3 separate regions of the Homo sapiens genome follow, and all the other regions are linked to region 1. The links are contacts of gene promoters, found by promoter capture Hi-C in blood cells and fetal thymus (Javierre and others, 2016). All regions are on one chromosome and are shown on one strand. Each heading gives the region's core, a stretch centred on a gene start or on the middle of the fragment in contact. The rest is flanking DNA. Distances are from core to core; before and after follow the strand shown.

Region 1 (3,596 bases), core at 812-3,311:
ACCTTTCTTCATTTAATTTCCACGACAAGGTTAAAAGAATGTATATGACCCCAGTATTCTGGGTGGAGCTAAGGGTCAGATGGAGTAAGTCACTTTCTCAAGGTCAAGTCGGCAGAAACTGAAGGAGCAAGGATTCCAACCCAGCAATGCGGGACTCCCAGCTCTGTGCTCTTTCTACTTCCCAGGAAACGGAGCCTAAGTTAGCAACAACAAACCGAAGTCGAGGACTGAGGACATATGCAACCCCCGGTTTGGGTGCAACCTTTATCAATATCCTAAACTGACAGATGACGTAGAGGCAGCCGTTTCGCTGACTAGGGAAGGTAGCCCAAGAAAGCTAAGATGCTAGAATCCAAATTTAAGGTCTACGAGACGCTGCAGAAAACATTTACAGTCACTAGAGGGCTCTCTCTCCCTTAAGCAAAAAGCGCAGCACCGCCCGCGCGCGGTAGTCTCGGAACCCCGCCGCCGGGAGGCCGCTGGCAGCTCCACGCCACCTCCCTGAAGCCCAGTCCATTTTGCCTACATCCCTGTCCGGGCAAGCCCTGGAGAATCCATAGGGCAGTGCCCCAAGCTGGAGCAGTTTTCACAGCCACATCCCGGGCTGCACTGGGTTAGGGATGCTTTGAGGTTCCTCTGGGGGCTCCCTGCTCTCTGCTTACCAAGCAGGCGGGAGTTGGGAAGGGGAGAAGGAGTGCAGACTCAGGGGTGGGGTAATCCAGAAATGCATCCCTCAAAGGCCAGCCTGGCCTGGTCCAGGCCCTAAGCTCTCTGGGGAAGGACGGCAGGGAACCCCGCCTTGGCGGGCTCTGCGGGTCCTGCGCCCGGGTAGATTTTGCTGAGATGGGGAGAGGGGACCCCCTCCACGCCCCCGGAGTAGTGAACACCATTTTGTTTGAAAGTATCCTGCAAAGAGAACCACCTCACGAGGCCATGGCTGCCAGGGGACTCCTCTCCCCACCGGATCGCCGGGGAGCCCGGGGAGGGAGGGATTCTGCAGCTGCAGCTTGGAGGTCCTTGATGCTGCATTTTAACGCGCATCGCAACGCCTTTGGAGTGACATTAAGTGCAAAGAGGCAAATGACTAATCCAAACTATTATTACAACTGCAGAAAATAACACAGATCAATGGCAAAGGCTTGAACCGGGATTAGCTAGGGAGGTGGGACAAACCGGGGATGATCCTTCCTCTCCTTTTTTAGATTTGTTTATTTTGGTAAATTATGTATGTATTTAAACATGAAGAAACAGGTGAAGCGAATGTAAATTGGGTTATAAATAATTTCCAAAGGCTTCGCTGTCCCTTGACAGAAGCCAGAAATAAGACAGGCACTGGGCCTGAGCGCTCTGGACAGGGAAGCACCCGCGTGGCGCTGGGCAAAATCTTCTCAGTGGAGAGAACGCACTCCGGGTTCGAGACCTCCCCGGGTGCAGATGCGAACTGCGGTGGCCCCAAGTGGCCGTCCACTTTGTTCATGAGAACAGTTTTCCTATAACGCCCACCCGGCCCTTTGCATCCCGCAATCCCGCGGGCGTCGGAGCGGGTCTTGGCGCGAACCAGGCGGCCTCGGCGGGGTCCTGCGGCGGAGGGCAGCGCGGCCGCAGCCCGGGAGAGGCGGCCGCGGCATTGTTTCAGCCCCTGGGGTGGGATCCAGCTGGGGGAGGGGAGGCGGGGTGTCCTCCGGAACCGCCCCCGGCCCTCCCTGGGGACCCGTGCCTCAGCGCGTCCAGGCTTTGTGGTGTCCTGAGTCGCCATGGAAACCCGAGGGAACGCGGAGCCGGGTGCTAGGGGGGTCGGTGAGTTCTCCGGCCGCGCCCTCCGTCCGCTCTCGGACCCCGGCCCTGCAGCAGGGCCTGCCGGGAGTTGTAGTCCCCAGGCGGCGGCGGCGCGCGGCGCCAAGGATGCGGGACGCCGCCTGTCCCCGCCTCCCCTTAACCTGCTAGCTGAGGTGGGGAGCGGCGGGAGGAGCCGGCCGCGCGGTGATTGGCGGAGGCCGCTCCCAGCCCCCGACACGCGCCCCTCCCCCGCTCCCCACTCTGGACTCCCGCGCTGGGCGCGCTGAGGCGGCCCCCGAGCGAGCGCGCGTGCAGCCGCCGCCGCCCCGAGCACCCGCAGCTCCGGCGCCGCGGCGAGACGGAGACGGACCGAGCCACGGGCCCCCGCGGCCGCAGCATCTCGGAGGAGTGGGTGATGGCAGGGGGGTCGGTGGGCTTACCCCTCCCGGGCTAGGACATCCTCCTCTCCCCCTTCTGTTTCTGCGTGAGGCGCACAAAAGGGCGGGGAGCCGGGTGAGCCTGGGGCCCGGCCGCAGGGGACGCGGCGGGAGGTGTGGTTTGGGGTTGGGAGGTGGCCATCGGGGCTAAGCCGGGGCGCTCTTGGGGTCCTCTTTGTACGCCCGCGAAGCGCCGTGCCGGGCCTTGCTCATAGTAAGCGTTTAATGCGTGCTCGCGGGGTTGCAAAGCCCTGGGGTGAGGAGGCGGCTCGGCCGAGGGGTTTCGCGCCTAGCACGCAGTGGGCCGCTTTCCTAGCCGGGCGCGGTGCAGTGGACCGCTGGAGGGCTGGGCGGGGGCGCCTCTGGCCGGGGGCCAGTCCTGCCGGTCCCAGGATCTGCGCTGTCCCCGGTCCCACACACCACCCAGATACACACCCTCCGTCCTTCTCGCCTCCGAGCTGGGATCTGCCCAGCCTGGACCCGACCCGGCGGTCTGTTCCACCGCCCGGCTAACGGAGCGGACGCCTGCAGAGGACTCGCCCGCCGCCTCCGAGCCTCCCGCCTGAGCCACAAAGGCCTCCTGCGGCTGCCCAGCCCGGAGCGGGCGCCGAGCCGGGTCCCTCGGCTGGAGCCCAGCGCGGGAGCCCGCCTTGCAGCATCGATCTCAGCGGGCACCGACGTCGACGCCCCGGGCCTGGGGACGGGGCTGTAGTCTGAGCTGGAGAGAAGCCGGGAGAGGGCGAGGGGAGGCCTCGGTTGAGAAAAGATGGGGATGGGGAAGGCTGGGGAGCTGGGTTAGGACAGGTAGTGGGTCTCGGGGAGCAGGGAGTGGGAACTAGGGTTTGAGGAGGAAAGAGAAGGGGCGGGGGCGGGTCCGAAGAACGAGGGAAGGAGCTCGGTGCAGGTGGCGCCCGGCGAGGCTGGTTCTGCTGAAGAATGGGGAGGGGAGGAGGGATGCAGGCGGGTGGAGGCCGCCTGGGTTTGAGGAGGGAGGACGGGAGCGAGGAGAAGACCCGCGCTGTGCGGGGGAGGGGGGCCTCCTGGGAAGGGGAGCCTCCCGAGGAGGGAGGGGCAAGCAGCTGAGAGGCGGTCTCGGGCCCGAGGATCCTCAGCTCCAGGCGCGGGGCCCCGCGGCCCAGGTGGCCGGCTGGGCGTGGCCCTCGGACCGGGGTTAGGGACCCAGGATGGCAGATCCGGGACCGGGCTGGGCTGGCTTGGTGAGGAGCTTTGTCTCCAGGCTTGAAACCAGCCGGTAGCGACTCGCTTAGGGTTTTGTGATCTTCCGCGGCGCCCACGGCACGCCCTTTTCTCGAGGAGCTGAAAGGCTTTGCCCAGCAGCAGGTGCTGCCAGGGAGGCGGATCTCCCTTCGGGGAGACCCGGAG
Region 2 (3,596 bases), core at 723-3,222, 190 kb after region 1:
TGAGTGTGCCTAGACATGAGACGCAGAAAGAATGGGGGCTTGAGATTTAGAGAAGATGAGAGGAGGGGGAGGTGGATGGGCAGCTGAGATCCTATGGGATTTGAAACACTTTAAGGGTTGAGAGGAGTTCAGGAAAAGATGGAAACCCCAGGGGAACAGAATGCCTGCACTTAGAATAGAAAGGAAATGGAAAATTTATAGGGAAACATGGATTGGTAAGAGGAAAGCCTTGAAGACCCAGGAACACCAGGGAGGAGATGGAGAAACTGGTTATGATTCTCTGTCCTATGGAAATACTGATCTTTCATTTTCTGTCTTGTCCTCTGTTTTCCTCTTTTTTTTTTTTTTTTTTTGAGTTAGAGTCTCCCTCTGTCGCCCAGGCTGGTGTGCAGTGGTGTGATCTCAGCTCACTGCAACCTCTGTCTCCTGCCTCAGCCTCCCAAGCAGCTGGGATTACAGGCGTCTGCCACCACGCCTGGCTAATTTTTGTATTTTTAGTAGAGATGGGGTTTCACTACGTTGGCCAGGCTGGTCTTGAACTCCTGACCTCAGGTGATCCGCCCACCTTGGCCTCCCAAAGTGCTGGGATTACAGGCGTGAGCCACCGCGCCTGGCCCTCTGTTTTCCTCTTGAACATGTGGAGGGCCTGAGAGGATAGGGCCTGAGATCAGCATTTTCAGCTGTCCTGTTCCATTCTTAAAGATGTAGGTACAGCAGAATTGCAGCATTCCATGTTCTTATGCTTAAAAATGGAATCCCTTCTTCCTACTGCCACCTAGTTCAACCATTTTCCCACCCCTACCCCATTTCTTTACTCCCTCACTCACAACTCGCCATGGTGGGGGGTTGGGGGATTGTCCCTGGCAGCTGGATGTGGCAGACCTGCAGAAGGAACTGGACAAGAGCCAGAGTGTGTTCTCTGGAAACCCATCCATATGGTTGAAGGACCTGGCCAGCTATCTCAACTACAAGCTACAAGCTCCTCTAAGTGAACCCACGCTGAGCCAGCATACTCATGGTAAGTCCTTCCAGCTTCCTCAAGCTCAGACAAGTTCAAATAAATTCAAAAAGGGTGGTATAACAGATCCCAGTGCCCCACACTGTCCTGATTTCCATGGGTGATTTGGGCTGGTCTCAAATCATCGTGACTGTGAATGTTTCTGGGCCTCATTCTGTGATCCTCCCTCTGGGCCTCCTCAGAGGAAGGATCCCAGCCTCAGTGCAGGGGCCTTTGCCTCCACTCACCATTCCCAGGGAGAGCACCACAGTTCTCAGAGCTGATGGGTGTCTGGTCCTAGCACTCACATTGAGGCCTATGGGCCTTAGATTATCCCTACAGCCTGGTGAGCCGGGAGCTACGTGGGATCATCCGAGGGCTGCTGGCGAAGGCAGCAGGGTCTCTGGAGCTCTTTTTTGACCACTGTCTGTTCACCATGTTGCAAGAGCTGGATAAGACACCAGGTGAAAGGGGCACGGGAGGGATGACCATCTTGGGAGCCTCCTCCTTTTTTTCCTGCTTCCAGTACCACTCAGTGGTTCTGTTTCCAGCAGAGAAATGTGCTAACCTTAACACTTTTTGGAAAGTGTGGAGGAAGTTAGGAGTCAGTGGACCTGGGGCCTGGGCTCACCGCTGACAAATGGGAGATTTCAGGTTTGGGATGCCAAATAATGTGAGTAGGTGTGAGAATGTGTATCTCTCCAGGGGAGTCACTACATGGTTACCGCATCTGTATCCAGGCCATCCTGCAAGACAAGCCCAAGATTGCCACGGCAAACCTAGGCAAGGTGAGCTCTCAGTGATGGTGGGGATGCTAGGAAGCTAGGACTGGGGAGGCTGGGCAGAATCTATGTTGTTGGACTCAGGTTTGGGATAGTGGAAGACCTGTAAGCCTAGTAATAATGGGTAACACTATTAGCACCTATCCTGTGTGTGTGCTCTGGAAACATAGGAGCAAGGTACTGCTATTATTTCCCATTTTTATAGATGAAAAGATTGAGCCACAGAGGAGTTCAGTAACTTTCCTAGGCTCAGTCATCCAGTAAATGGCAGAGTATGGGCGAAGCCCACAAACAGAACCTGCACCACGTGGCCATAGTGCTCCACTCTTGCTCGGCCTGTCCTCCCTCTTCCAGTTGACATCTCCCTTCCCTCCTGGCTTTGGGGGGTGCTCCTGGTGTTTTGTCCTATCCCAATCTGCCTTCCCCACCGGTCTCCTCAGTTCCTGGAACTGCTGAGGTCCCACCAGAGCCGACCAGCAAAGTGTCTCACCATCATGTGGGCCCTGGGTCAAGCAGGTTTTGCCAACCTCACCGAGGGACTGAAAGGTAACAGGGAAATAGGGAAGAAAGAGGGAGGGTCTCGGAGCTGGAAAACTCCTCTTTGATGCCCCCAGTAGGTGCAAGCCTGAGGCCTCCCTCGTGACTTTTACCCCTGCAGTGTGGCTGGGGATCATGCTGCCTGTGCTGGGCATCAAGTCTCTGTCTCCCTTTGCCATCACATACCTGGATCGGCTGCTCCTGTGAGTAATGGGAGGGCAGCAAGGGGAAGGCTCAGGGTGTCCCAAGTGGCTGTTATAGCAAAATGGGAGGCTATGATCTTGGTCTCCATGGATATGAGGAAAATCAGGACCAGCTTCTCCCACCACCTTAGAATGTGATGGTGAGGAAGGAAGAAGAGGGAGCTATTAAGGGCTGGCAGATGGGGTAGAGTTTATACCCTTTTTCCTAGATGTTGGCTTAGCTGGGGTCATGGCCAAAACAGCTGGCATGGGTGGTGGTGTCCAGCGAGCCTGTTTCTTCATCCCCACAGGATGCATCCCAACCTTACCAAGGGCTTCGGCATGATTGGCCCCAAGGACTTCTTCCCACTTCTGGACTTTGCCTATATGCCGAACAACTCCCTGACACCCAGGTAGGACTGCTCTGGGGCACACCTGCTGAGAAGGGACCACAGCACCAGAACCACACTACATATTCCCGTCTCTCCTTCCCCAGCCATCCTAGATCTGAGATTTGCAACCTGGAAGTTCAAGAGTAGGTTTCAAGGGAACAGTGACCCCTTGAAATTATATGGACCCTTGAGTGTGATTGGCATATGGGCATTTTCTTAGGGATAGGGTCCATGGCTTTCAACAGATTTCCAAGGAGTCTCTGAGTAAAAAGATTCAGAGCCATTGCAAGGTCCTCAGTGGCTATTCCCCACAGGCAGGCATGGGCTCTGAAGCAAGCAAAAGGTTCATATCATACAGCTCCACTTATAGCTTATGCCTGTCTTTCCTCCCCACCCCACCCAGCCTGCAGGAGCAGCTGTGTCAGCTCTACCCCCGACTGAAAGTGCTGGCATTTGGAGCAAAGCCGGATTCCACCCTGCATACCTACTTCCCTTCTTTCCTGTCCAGAGCCACCCCTAGCTGTCCCCCTGAGATGAAGAAAGAGGTGAGGATATGGTGGGAGGCTTTTTCTCCTTCCCCAGGGGTCAGCTGTAGCGGTCCCTATCTGCTGACAAAGGCCTTGCCTTCACAGAGCCCATTCTGAGGCTTTTCCTTAGCTCCCTGTTGACAGCTGCCTGCCCCGCTCACTCGAGCTTCACCCTCAGA
Region 3 (3,596 bases), core at 709-3,208, 140 kb after region 1:
TTCAGGCTATTCTGCCTGTCACCAGTGCCCAGCATTTCCCTGACACTCAGTGGGTGCGCACCACGTACTTACTGAACTTAAGAGATCCACGGCCGGGCAGTCTCATGCCTGTAATCCCAGCACTTTGGGAGGCCGAGGCGGGCGGATCACGAGGTCTGCAGATTGAGACCATCCTGGCTAACATGGTGAAACCCCGTCTCTACTAAAAATACAAAAAAATTAGCCAGGCGTGGTGGTGGGCGCCTGTAGTCCCAGCTGCTCTGGAGGCTGAGGCAGGAGAATGGTGTGAACCGGGAAGGCAGAGCTTGCAGTGAGCCGAGTTCGTGCCACTGCACTCCAGCCTGGGCGACAGAGTGAGACTCCATCCCAAAAAAAAAGAGATCCAAACAGATTGTAGGGAAGCTTAGTCAATCAGTCCCAGGGGAGGTCGGGTCTGCCACTGAGGTACAGCCTGTGGTCAGTTGGTATGTCTGGTCCTAGTGGAAAGACAATAGCAGGAAGGAAGTGATAGTGGTGGCTGGACCAATACTGCCTACAGCCTCACCACAAAAGAAACAGTTTGGTGGTGGTGATAGGGAGAAGAGGACTTTGTTGGTGACAATTGGCTACAAATGGTCTGTGGGTCACTGCCGCTTGCTTTCTCAAATCCCTACTCCAGTTCTATCAGCTGTGTCTGCCTGCCCCGAGGTAGTCCCTACTCTTTTTCTAAACAATAGAATTCCACATTCATTTTATAGAGCCCCACATAAATAAAAGAAATTGGCCTATTTTCACACAGTTTATCTCCTTTCTATTTCCATCCCTTCAGAATCCTGTAATCATGAGATTGCCTAAATGGTCTCTCTGGAAGGCCCTGGCAACGTCTAGGCACGCATCCTGTCTTGCATTTGTAGATCAGATTCTCAGACTCCAAATTGGGCCAGATGTAAATGGGTAACAACTGTCTGTGTTCTCTCTATCCCACTAAAAGCATCGGGCATTCCTCCTCTCCTTCTCTTATTGAAATAACTTGCGTAAATCATGCTAGACTTTGCACCTTGACCTCCTTAGGCCACACGTGGAAATTGATTCCCTGCCTTTCACCACCACCACCACACACTCATATACTTTGTGCCAGATTCCTAAGAGAGATTGAATGTGTATAATTTTTTAATCTCATGATTTTGGAAAATCAGAAACTGTTACTACTCCATAACTAAGGGAGAAGAATAAAAGAGGTATGTTCATATTTATTATATTTATATCTAAGTGCTATAGCAATACCTTTTGACAAAAATATACTTTTAAAGTCACATTTTAGGAGAAGCGTAGTACTCATTCTCACTGACTAATGTTACCAGATAATTTTTTTTTTTTTTGAGATGGAGTTTCGCTCTTGTTGCCCAGGCTGGAGTGCAGTGGTACGATCTCATCTCACTGCAGCCTCCACCTCCCTGGTTCAAGCGATTCTCCTGCCTCAGCCTCCCAAGTAGCTGGGTTTACAGGCATGCACCACCACGCCTGGCTAATTTTGTAATTTAGTAGAGATGGGGTTTCTCCACATTGATCAGGCTGGTCTTGAACTCCCGACGTCAGGTGATCCACCCGCCTCAGCCTCCCAAAGTGCTGGGATTACAGGCATGAACCACTGCACCCGGCCCAGATAATTTTTTTTTTTTTTTTTAATCCTGACCTATACTAAGAGTTTGGAATGGATATTTGAGGGGAGGAGAAGACAGGTCACTCAGCAAACATGAAGCACCTACTTCAGCCATGCTTTGGAATTTAAAAATGACAAATGTAAGATACTGCCTCATCCCTGCCCTTGAATTCATGTTATAGTTTTAACACACCCCACTGCAATCATGAAATGTGGTATACATTCCATAAAACTAGAATCAAATAGGATCAATTGCATCTTACTCATTGATATCCTTGTGAAGACTGTGTAGGCCAGAAGTGAGAAGATGATTTGAAACCCTTCTGTTTCCTACATGGAGTGTTGATTCTGTATAATGTGTTGCTTCTCTCCTGAGAAATCCAGTGTTCTGTTTTATTTCCTATTGCACATGTTGTACTTCCATGCCCTTTTTATATTCTGCTACTTTCCCTAGTTTCAGTTTAGTCATAGGGATTGTATAGCTCCCACTTTTCCTTTCTCTGGAAATACCATGCATGTTTTAACTGGAAGACCCTGATGAGGTAAAATATTAGGACGTTATTAGCCAGGCGCAGTGGCTCACCCCTGTAATCCCAGCACTTTGGAAGCCAAGGTGGGCAGGTCACCTGAGGTCAGGAGTTTGAGACTAGCCTGGCCAACATGATGAAACCCCATCTCTACTAAAAATACAAAAACTTAGCCGGGAGTGGTGGTGCACACCTGTAATCCCTGCTACTCGGGAGGCTGAGGCAGGAGAGTTGCTTGAACCCAGGAGGTGGAGATTGCAGTAAGCCGAGATTGCGCCACTGTACTCCAGCCTGGGCAACAAGAGTGGAACTCATCTCAAGAAAAATAAAAAAAATTAGGACATTATTAAAATAAAACCAGAAACTGGTTTGTTAAAGCTCCTTTCTTAACCATCTGTTCTATCATCAGTCACTTCAGGCTGTTTGGTGTCAAAATTACAGAGTCCCCCACCATATTACACCAGTTTCTCTACTTAGAGCTAAGTCCTTCTCCAGGTCACAGAAAGAAGTTGTTCCAGGGATAGAAAAAATTCCTGTTGAGGGAAAGTTCTGGGGAGGTCGGGAGGATGTGTAGCTCCTGCCTGATGTCCCTAACACTTCAGGTGGTGACTAAACTCTTGGTATGGATGTGACTCCCTCCCCATGAGATTGCCAGGTTGAAGACCAGCTGAGGAGTCATCTGCCCCCTTCTCAGCCTTACCAACTCGATTTTTGCTGGATTTAGGAAATAGGACAGTTCTGGTTCTTTATCCTACTACTGTAGGCCCTACTTGGCCATGACCATTGATTGTGTCCAAAAGTTCATGCCTGGCAGGAAAGCAAGAACTCATGATGGATGTCTTGAGAACCATGCTTCCTTGAGTAGGAGATGGCGCTCTCCCCCCAGACAGAGACTAATTGAGAAGACTGACATTAAGGAATGCTACCAGAATACCCCAGAATTTGACTTGAGCCCTAATCTTTGTGTGTGGGAGCTGTCCAACATTTCAGCATACTTTTGCATTTGCCTACTTTGAAAGAAACATGATAATAATCTGGCTGTCTTGACTGTTTTACTGTGTGCCATGTTCTGAGGAAACTGACACAATTCAGGATCTAGTCTCTCAGGTATTTTGATCTGATAACTTAATTATCAGCTTTTCTTGAGGTCACCAAGCCCTGAGAAAACTGACTTACATTTATTTGCTTAGGCACATTTGTACCAGAAAGTCAATTTAATAAATATACTTCTTCCCTGTATCATGGTGGCTTGAAAATCAGAAAGGTAATCAGAGCTTGATTTATAAGCATGAAATCAGAGCAAATACAGTTGGAAGTTAAGAAATTATGTGTTATCCACACCATGGTTCAAGCTTGATTAATTCTCCTCTCTCTACCAGAGGAGACATCATTCATCCTAGTGACCAGAATACCAATTCCAGCTAAGCAGA

Evidence for each region. Contacts are between HindIII fragments. The CHiCAGO score rates a contact against its expected background, and 5 or more counts as called.
Region 2: a fragment that was not itself captured here is called in contact with the fragment with the promoter of DPYSL5 in region 1 in 1 of 17 cell types (endothelial precursors); the score reaches 5.0 in endothelial precursors.
Region 3: a fragment that was not itself captured here is called in contact with the fragment with the promoter of DPYSL5 in region 1 in 2 of 17 cell types (megakaryocytes and endothelial precursors); the score reaches 7.2 in megakaryocytes.

What each region holds. Positions count from the first base shown.
Region 1 is chr2:26,846,071-26,849,666 of GRCh38, forward strand. DPYSL5 (dihydropyrimidinase like 5) reads left to right here and starts at 2,062. Exons shown (of 13, transcript NM_020134.4): 1 at 2,062-2,184. The HindIII fragment of the contact is 4,603 bases long and covers 1-3,596 here.
Region 2 is chr2:27,034,268-27,037,863 of GRCh38, forward strand. It overlaps TMEM214 (transmembrane protein 214), which reads left to right. Exons shown (of 17, transcript NM_017727.5): 3 at 868-1,018; 4 at 1,327-1,461; 5 at 1,703-1,785; 6 at 2,220-2,325; 7 at 2,438-2,519; 8 at 2,810-2,911; 9 at 3,294-3,435. Among named protein-coding and RNA genes, the nearest start is that of TMEM214, 3.1 kb to the left of the region's middle. The HindIII fragment of the contact is 4,998 bases long and covers 1-3,596 here.
Region 3 is chr2:26,990,886-26,994,481 of GRCh38, forward strand. The region is part of intron 1 of MAPRE3 (microtubule associated protein RP/EB family member 3); the gene reads left to right. All of the region lies in intron 3 of MAPRE3-AS1 (MAPRE3 antisense RNA 1), which reads right to left. Among named protein-coding and RNA genes, the nearest start is that of MAPRE3-AS1, 22 kb to the right of the region's middle. The HindIII fragment of the contact is 3,116 bases long and covers 401-3,516 here.